Regions from separate parts of the Homo sapiens genome. Here all the other regions are linked to region 2. Evidence: promoter capture Hi-C in 16 types of primary human blood cells and fetal thymus (Javierre and others, 2016). All regions are on one chromosome and are shown on one strand. The core of a region is centred on a gene start or on the middle of the fragment in contact, and the rest is flanking DNA. Distances in the headings are between cores, read along the strand shown. Region 1 overlaps TXLNA (taxilin alpha). Region 2 holds the start of HDAC1 (histone deacetylase 1). Region 3 overlaps BSDC1 (BSD domain containing 1).

Region 1 (2,773 bases), core at 159-2,658, 110 kb before region 2:
ATGTCTCTGAGGAGCTGAGCCGCCAACTGGAAGACATACTGAGCACATACTGTGTGGACAATAACCAGGGGGGCCCCGGCGAGGATGGGGCACAGGGTGAGCCGGCTGAACCCGAAGATGCAGAGAAGTCCCGGACCTATGTGGCAAGGAATGGGGAGCCTGAACCAACTCCAGTAGTCAATGGAGAGAAGGAACCCTCCAAGGGGGATCCAAACACAGAAGAGATCCGGCAGAGTGACGAGGTCGGAGACCGAGACCATCGAAGGCCACAGGAGAAGAAAAAAGCCAAGGGTTTGGGTGAGCAGAGGGCGGCTCTTTGTGAAGCTGGTGAGGAGAGGGAGTTTGGACTTGACGTTCTCTGGGCCAGTCTGTTCTGCCAGGATTCAAAGGAAAACGGTACTTCTCAGAGCAGCAAGTCACTCTAGTCTAATCAAAGCCAGGGATGTGGGGGCCACGGCATAGAGAGATGCAGGAGTTACCAGCACAAAGCCTTCTGGGTTTTGGAGCAACTGGAGCTTGGCATGGGACCTGTTCTCTCTTTGAGAAAATGGAGACGGGAGGCTAGGGTAGGCTCCTGTGCCAGCCAGTACTACCTGCTGTGTGACCTTGGGTGTGTCCCTTCTCCTCTCTGGGTCTTAGTTTATATTTCTCTTTACAGTAAGAAAATTAGACTAGGCCAGAGTTGAAAACCCAAATATCTGCATAAGCTGGGCTGGCCATGGGGCCACCTGAAGATGGAGGCTTTACTGCTTCCTGATTAGTTGCTCTCAGCTAGCCAACTGAGAGCAGGCAAAACTACAGGCTGGGTGCAGTCAGGCTTTTTTTTTTTTTTTTTTTTTTTAAATAAAGAAAAGCCAGAAATCTAGAGTTATGTGAGAACTCTAGATTTTTTCATAGTTAGCAGCTAAAATGGTAAGAGCCAAACAAAACCCATCCGTGGGTTGGATTTGGCACACATGCCTGCGAATTGCAGTCTCCATGCTGATCTCTTGGGCCCTTCTGGGGAGGCAGAGGGAAGGCTCCCTGACTCAGTCACAGGCAATGGGGAATAGGCAGTGACAGTCATTTTACAGCAGGGTATGTATGTTTAAGAGTCTAGGCCGGGTGTGGTGGCTCACGCCTGTAATTGCAGCACTTTGGGAGGCCGAGGCGGGTGGATCACCTGAGGGTCAGGAGTTCGAGAACAGCCTGGCCAACATGATGAAATCCCGTCTCTACTAAAAATACAAAAATTAGCTGGACATGCTGGCACACGCCTGTAATCCCAGCTACTTGGGAGGCTGAGGCAGGAGAATGGCTTGAACCCGGGAGGCAGAGGTTGCAGTGAACTGAGATTGTGCCACTACATCCAGCCTGGGTGACAAGAGTGAAACTCTGTCTCAAAAAAAAAAAAAAAGAATCTAGAATCTAAGTCGAGTGTCATTATATCCATGTTTTATTCCTATTCCCTTTTCCCCTTATGTATCCTCTTACTTTAAAGAGGAACTTTAAAAAATCTTAGGGACGACTAGGCAGAGTGGCTCACACCTGTAACTCCAGCACTTTGGGAGGCCAAGGCAGGCAGATTATGAGGTCAGGAGTTCGAGACCAGCCTGGCCAACATGGTGAAACCCCAGTTCTACTAAAGATACAAAAAATCAGCCGGGCGTGGTGGCACGTGCCTATAATCCCAGATACTCGGGAGGCTGAGGCAGGAGAATCACTTGAACCCGTGAGGCAGAGTTTTCAGTGAGCTGAGATCATGCCATTGCACTCCAGCCTGGGTGACAGGGTGAGACTCCATCTCAAAAAAAGAAAAAGGAAAAAATCTTAACGTCACATACATGGAAAGTATCATCTTCTTCACCCCCCACCCCCAACTGAGATGGAGTCTTGCTCTGTCACCCAAGCTGGAGTGCACTGGCGCGATCTCAGCTCCCTGCAAGCTCCGCCTCCCGGGTTCACACCATTCTCCTGCCTCAGCCTCCCGAGTAGCTGGGACTACAGGCGCCTGCCACCATGCCCGGCTAATTTTTGTATTTTTTTAGTAGTGACAGGGTTTCACTGTGTTAGCCAGGATAGTCTCGATCTCCTGACCTCATGATCCGCCCACCTGGGCCTCCCAAAGTGCTGGGATTACAGGCGTGGGCCACCGTACCCTGCCTTTTTTTTTTTTTTTTTTTTTTGAGATGGAGCCTCGCTCTGTCCCTAGGTTGGAGTGCAGTGGCGCGATCTCGGCTCACTGCAAGCTCCACCTCCTGGGTTCACGCCATTCTCCTGCCTCAGCCTCCCGAGTAGCTGGGACTACAGGCTCCTGCTACCATGCCCGGCTAATTTTTTTGTATTTTTTTTAGTAGAGACGGGGTTTCACTGTGTTAGCCAGGATGGTTTTGATCTCCTGACCTCGTGATCCGCCCGCCTCAGCCTCCCAAAGTGCTGGGATTACAGGCGTAAGCCACTGTACCCTGCCTTTTTTTTTTAATTAATTAATTTTTTTAGACAGAGTCTCGCTCTGTCACCAAGCTGGAGTGCAGTGGCGCGATCTGGGCTCACTGCAACCTCCGCCTCCTGGGTTCAAGCGATTCTCCTACCTCAGCCTCCGGAGTAACTGGGACTACAGGCGCGTGCCACCACACCAAGCTAATTTTTTTGTGTATGTCTTTAGTAGAGATGGGGTTTCACCATGTTAGGATGGTCTCGATCTCTTGACCTCGTGATCCGCCTGCCTCGGCCTCCCAAAGTGCTGGGATTACAGGCATGAGCCACCTTGCCTGGCCGAAAGTATCTTCATTTT
Region 2 (2,890 bases), core at 376-2,875:
AGGAAGCACTCATTAAATATTGACATTATTGTAGTTATTTTAATAGCCCAGCATTGCACTTTTAGGTCTTTCAGCTTTCAGTGATGATCAGTTGATAATTGATGATCTGGTGGAGTGGTTCTTAATGGTAGAGTTGGGGGCAATTTTACACTCCCTTACACCCCACTAATCTTCCCCCCAACCCAATGGTAAAGCTATTGCACAGTACTTGGCAATGTCTAGAGACAATTTTGGTTGTCACAGCCTGGGGGGAAGGTGCTACTGGCATCTAGTGGGTAGAGGCTAAGGATGCTGCTTAATTTTTTTTTTTTTTGAGACAAGAGTTTCACTCTAGTTGCCCAGGCACAGAACAGCTTCACAGAAGCTGTTAATGCACAGAATAGCTTCCTACAAAAAAGCATTACCTGGCCCAAAATGTCATTAGCTACCAGGCTGAGAAACCTGCCCTCCTAGGCCGGGCGCTGTGGCTCACGCCCGTAATCTCAGCATATTGGGAGGCCGAGGTGGGCGGATCCTGAGGTCAGGAGTTCGAGACCACCTGGACCAACACGGAGAAACCCAGTCTCTACCAAAAATACAAAATTAGCCGGGCATGGTGGCACATGCTTGTAATCCCAGCTACTCGGGAGGCTGAGGCAGGAGAACCGCTTGAACACAGAGGCAGAGATTGTGGTGAGCCGAGATCACACCATTGCACTCCAGCCTGGGCAACTAGAGCGAAACTCTTGTCTCAAAAAAAAAAAAAAAAAAAAAAACAGGGAAAGAAAAGAAAGGAAACCTGCCCTCCTATCATAGGATAATCCCATTTCCTCCTGTCTAAAGAGACGCCTACTTAGTCATCCTGGGTGACTGCATCAGGGAGGTAGATTTTGGAGTCTGAAAGGCTGGGTTCTGTCACTTTGTTACAGTGCCTCTGGTGCAAAGAAAGCATTTTAAAAACCCTGTACAATTAAAAAATTGAATTTAATTACTTTGTGTAACTTTGAATAATTCACAGAAGTCTGAACTTCTTTATCCTGTCCTGTAAAATGGAGGTAAAAAGCCCTTGGCCGAGAGCTGTTTTGAGGAAAAACTGAAATAACATTGGTAAAGTGTCGCACAGTACTTGGCACACAGCAGCCCCTCGACAAACATTAGCTTTCTTTCCCTTTCTTGTCGGTTTCTTCCTCTCCAAACCCGCGTGTTGCTTTTCTTTTTAATTATTTTTCTGTAGCCCTCCTTTGCGGCCACAAACTCGCTTTCTAACCCAGGTTCAGCCCTTTTATTGGCTGAGTGACCTTGTGCAAGTCACTTTTCCCCTGTAGGCCTCGGTTTATTCTCCGTAAAATCAGAAAGTTGGCCTCCGATCTCCAAGCACGCTTTTCACGACGAAGTGGGACTGTTAAGTTTACAGAGCTGCTTTCCTCCCCCGGGACTGATGGTACGGTCCCCGGGCGGCTCCCCACCCATCTGTCGCAGACCTTGGTACAGGCCCAGGGGGCCCTCGGCGGCCTCTCCGGGCTGCCCTTGCCCCCTGCCGAGTTCCGGGCCCGTGTCTGCGCAAGCTGATTGGCTGGAGCGGTGCCCGGGCTGCGCGGCTATAGGTGAGCCCAGGAGGGGACGGGCGGGGCGGGCCGGAGGCCCGCCCCCTCCCCCCTGGGTCGGACGCTGAGCGGAGCCGCGGGCGGGAGGGCGGACGGACCGACTGACGGTAGGGACGGGAGGCGAGCAAGATGGCGCAGACGCAGGGCACCCGGAGGAAAGTCTGTTACTACTACGACGGTGAGCACCGTCCTCGCGGCGGGGGCGGGGCCAGGCCGGGCCGGACCGGGAACCTGGAGGCTGAGGCTGGAGCGCCGATGGGAGGCTGCGGGAGGCTGAGGCGCTGGGGAGAGGCTCGGAGAGGAGGCTGCGAGGGGGAAGTCGAGGCTGAGGGAGGAGGCTGCGAGGAAGGGAGATCGAGGCTGAGACCAAGAGGGGATCGCGTGGGGGAAGCGTGAGGTAATCTTGATGGGAAGATTCTGAGGAAGTCTGATGTGGAGAGTTTGAGTGGGACTCCTAGAGGGGAGGGTGCGTCGGAGCGGGGAGGCTGAATCTGATGGAGACGGCTGCAAGGATACATTTTCTTGCCGAGAACCCAAAGCTCTTCCCTGCCCCGTCCCTTCCTCATCTTTTCTGGGGGAAGAGTCCTGCACGACTGGTTGCCCGCCTCCCCTCCCCCAGCCTCTGAGCGGGGCCTGCGGTTGCTACTGCGACGTGGGGCGCCAGGGGTTGCAAGGAGAAGGATGCAACCTGTTAAAACAGACTTCTCACTTAATCTCTCAAGCAGGTTACTGTGTTCGAGGAAGTGTTGAGGGGCTGGGGCCGTGGGGTTGATCGGGTCACCCTTCCCAGTGACCGAAGTTCTCTCCGTGTCAGAGCTCAGAGTGTTAGGGGAGCACAGAGAAGAGGCACCGAACTCCACCTGAGGAGTCAGCGAAGGAGGGGACATCTTAGTTAGGACCTGAAGAACAGGAGTTCTTAGCCAGGCACAGGGAAGGCAAAGATAACAGCAAGTTTCAGAGGCAAGAGAGAGGACAGGACCTTTGAAAAACAGGCATTTGGCCGGGCGTGGTGGCTCACGCCTGTAATCCCAGCACTTTGGGAGGCCGAGGCTGGTGGATCACCTGAGGTCAGGAGTTCGAGACCAGCCTGGCCAACATGGTGAAACCCCGTCTCTACTAAAAATACAAAATTAGCCGCGCATGGTGGTGTGCGCCTGTAATCCCAGCTACTCTGGAGCCTAAGGCAGGAGAATCCCTTAGAACCCGGGAGGCAGAGGTTGCAGTGAGCTGAGATCGTGCCACTGCACTCCAGCTTGGACAACAGAGCGAGGCTCTGTCTTAAAAAAAAAAAAAAAAAAAGATGTAAA
Region 3 (2,700 bases), core at 102-2,601, 97 kb after region 2:
ATGAGGCAGTATGTGAAGTTATTTGCCTTCGGGTTTAAGAATTAGTAATTACTAATTGTATTAGTAACAGCAATAGCTTGGAAAGCTATTTTATGAGTAATTCTTAACAATTTAATATCAGTAAAAAGGCATGTGATTTTTTACATTCAACAAAGGAGGAAGCGGTCAAGAGAAAGACTAGATCAGATTCTCTTGGAGGCCTTCTTGGTTCTACCATCCCGAGGTTCTATTCATATACAAAGCTCCTTTGGGCAGAATGCATATTTGCTCCTGCTAAACCAATCTGTTTCTCAGCCTGCACCCAGACCTCACTTGAGAAAGCAGACCCTCAGCTCACTTCTAGGTCTTGCCCTGTCTTGCTTCAGACTCACCAACTCTAGGATGCTTCCTGGAGTATCTCAGTGGCCACTCCCCCTGCAAGCCCTTTCATCTTACACGGGGATAATCACCTGCATTTTTTAAAGCATGTTTTTGAGCGCTCCTGTGGTTTGTTCTTCTGGGAAGGGCCTGCCCACTTTTCATTAGCTTGGGAAGTTTCTGAATGGCACAGTCTATCAGCTACAGGCTTCTCTAGGGGTGGTAATCATGCCTCCATATCAACTCAGGACTCCTTAATTGGGGGTGGAGGAGGTCATTTACTTATTTACTTTTATTAAAATTTTAAAAAATATTTCACAGCACCATGAAATTGTGCCCTGGGTCATTTACCGATTCACTCTTTCTATCCACACTGCCACCATCTTAGTCCAGGCCAACTTATTCTTTCACCTGGATTCCTCCCAGGTTGTCTCAGCCACCTTTACTTCATTCTCCTTATGACACCCAGTGGGTGCTTTGTCTGTCAGGGCAGACCGTGCTGCTTTACACTCTTTAAGTTTACACACTATCCTAAGAGCAAATTGAAAATCCACCTTTACTTACAAAGCCTATATAACTTGGCCTCTGGCAGACTGGTATCCCCTACCACTGTGCCGTTCACTGAGCTCCAGCTGGCCTTCCTCAAGTTTCTAAAATGCCCTAGCATCTGTCCTGCCTCAGAGTATCTGAACACATTGTTTCCTCTCCCTGATACAGAGTTCTAACTCTTCAAAAAAACCAAGTCTGTAAACACGATGAAGGAACCCTCTTATCTGGAAAACTCCTGTTCATCCTCAACGTCTATGCTTCATTTCCCTAGAGGGGCTTCCTGCTGCCTCTTCAGGCTCAGCTGGCTCTCCCTGCTTTATCTCTTCTTCTTTTTTTTCTTTTTTTTTTTTTTTGAGATGGAGTTTCGCTCTGTTACCCAGGCTGGAGTGCAGTGGCGCGATCTCTGCTCACTGCAACCTCTGCCTCCCGGGTTCATGCCATTCTCCTGCCTCAGCCTCCCGAGTAGCTGGGACTACAGGCGCCCGCCACCAAGCCCAGCTAATTTTTTGTATTTTTAGTAGAGACGGGATTTCACTGTGTTAGCCAGGATGGTCTCGATCTCCTGACCTCATGATTCGCCCACCTTGGCCTCCCAATTTATCTCTTTTCTAACACTGAACATAGTTTAGACTTCAGATGACCTGTTCAATGTCTGTCTTCCTGGATAAACTGTGAGTTGTGTGAACACAGGTCCTATGTGTTTTGTTCCCTGATGGTTCCCCAGTATCTGACACAGAGCATACAGTAGGTACTCAAAAAATGTTTGCTTGTTAAATTTACATGGACCATTGAAATTTCAATTATGTAACCACTTGTGTGACTAAACAGTTGTCTTCCCGCTAGACTGTGAGCTCTGAGCAGACAAACATGAACATACGTTGCCCTCAAGCAGGTCACAGTCTACTGGGGAAAATGGTCCCATGATAGTGCTGATGTGCAAGGGCAGAGCAGTAGCTGCTGTACTATGGGGAGGTTGGGAAGATGTGGTGACCAGAAGCCTGGAATGGGCCCTTAAAGAATGAACAGGAGTTGGTTAAGAAGTATTGATGTGGGCCAGGTGCAGTGGCTGATGCCTGTAATCCCAGCACTTTGGGAAGCCGAGGCAGGAGGATTGCTTGAGCCCAGGAATTTGAGACCAGTTTGGACACTATGGCAAAACCGTCTCCACACACACACACACACACACACACACAAATACAAAAAATTAGCCAGAAGTGGTGGTACACGCCTATAGTCCCAGCTACCCAGGAGGCTGAGGTGGGAGAATCACCTGAGCCTGGGTGGTTGAGGCTGCAGTGGGCTGTGATCATGCCACTGCACTCCAGTCTGGGTAACAGAGTGAGACCCTGTCTCAAAAAAAAAAAAAAAAAAGAACAGGAGTCAGCTAAGAAGTGTTGACATGGGTTTAGTGACGTCTACAAGCATTACAGTCCTGATGGACATAAAATGTGAAGCAAGAGTGGTGAGGGATAAAGCTGGAGAGGTTGCCAAGGGCAACCAGGGAGAGCCTGGTCAGCCCTATGGATGATGGGGAGCCACCAAAGGTTTGAAGTGGGTGGGACATGAGATTTGCCTTTTCACTAAATTACTCCAGTGACTGGAATGGAGGAAAGGTCCAGAGGCGAGAAGATTAGAAGAGGAAGAAGGAAGACCAGTCAGGAGGCTGCTGCAATAATCCAGGAAAGAAAATAGAAAAATGTGAGTAAGGACAATGCTAGTAAAGATGGAGAGGATGAGACTGGTTCAAGATACAGGAGATGGAAGAAGGTGGATTTGGTGACTGAACAGGTATGT

Evidence for each region. Contacts are between HindIII fragments. The CHiCAGO score rates a contact against its expected background, and 5 or more counts as called.
Region 1: a contact is called between a fragment that was not itself captured here and the fragment with the promoter of HDAC1 in region 2, in 4 of 17 cell types (total CD4 T cells, non-activated CD4 T cells, naive CD8 T cells and 1 more). The highest score is 7.0, in total CD4 T cells.
Region 3: a contact is called between a fragment that was not itself captured here and the fragment with the promoter of HDAC1 in region 2, in 3 of 17 cell types (total CD8 T cells, non-activated CD4 T cells and naive CD4 T cells). The highest score is 5.8, in total CD8 T cells.

The regions. Positions count from the first base shown.
Region 1 is chr1:32,181,281-32,184,053 of GRCh38, forward strand. TXLNA (taxilin alpha) reads left to right here. Exons shown (of 11, transcript NM_175852.4): 3 at 1-297. Among named protein-coding and RNA genes, the nearest start is that of TXLNA, 3.0 kb to the left of the region's middle. The HindIII fragment of the contact is 4,926 bases long and covers 1-2,773 here.
Region 2 is chr1:32,290,458-32,293,347 of GRCh38, forward strand. HDAC1 (histone deacetylase 1) reads left to right here and starts at 1,626. Exons shown (of 14, transcript NM_004964.3): 1 at 1,626-1,761. The coding sequence starts at 1,713. RefSeq lists a silencer at 1,340-1,749 and enhancers at 2,360-2,419, 2,491-2,890. The HindIII fragment of the contact is 8,638 bases long and covers 1-2,890 here.
Region 3 is chr1:32,387,714-32,390,413 of GRCh38, forward strand. The region is part of intron 2 of BSDC1 (BSD domain containing 1); the gene reads right to left. Among named protein-coding and RNA genes, the nearest start is that of BSDC1, 5.4 kb to the right of the region's middle. The HindIII fragment of the contact is 8,104 bases long and covers 1-2,700 here.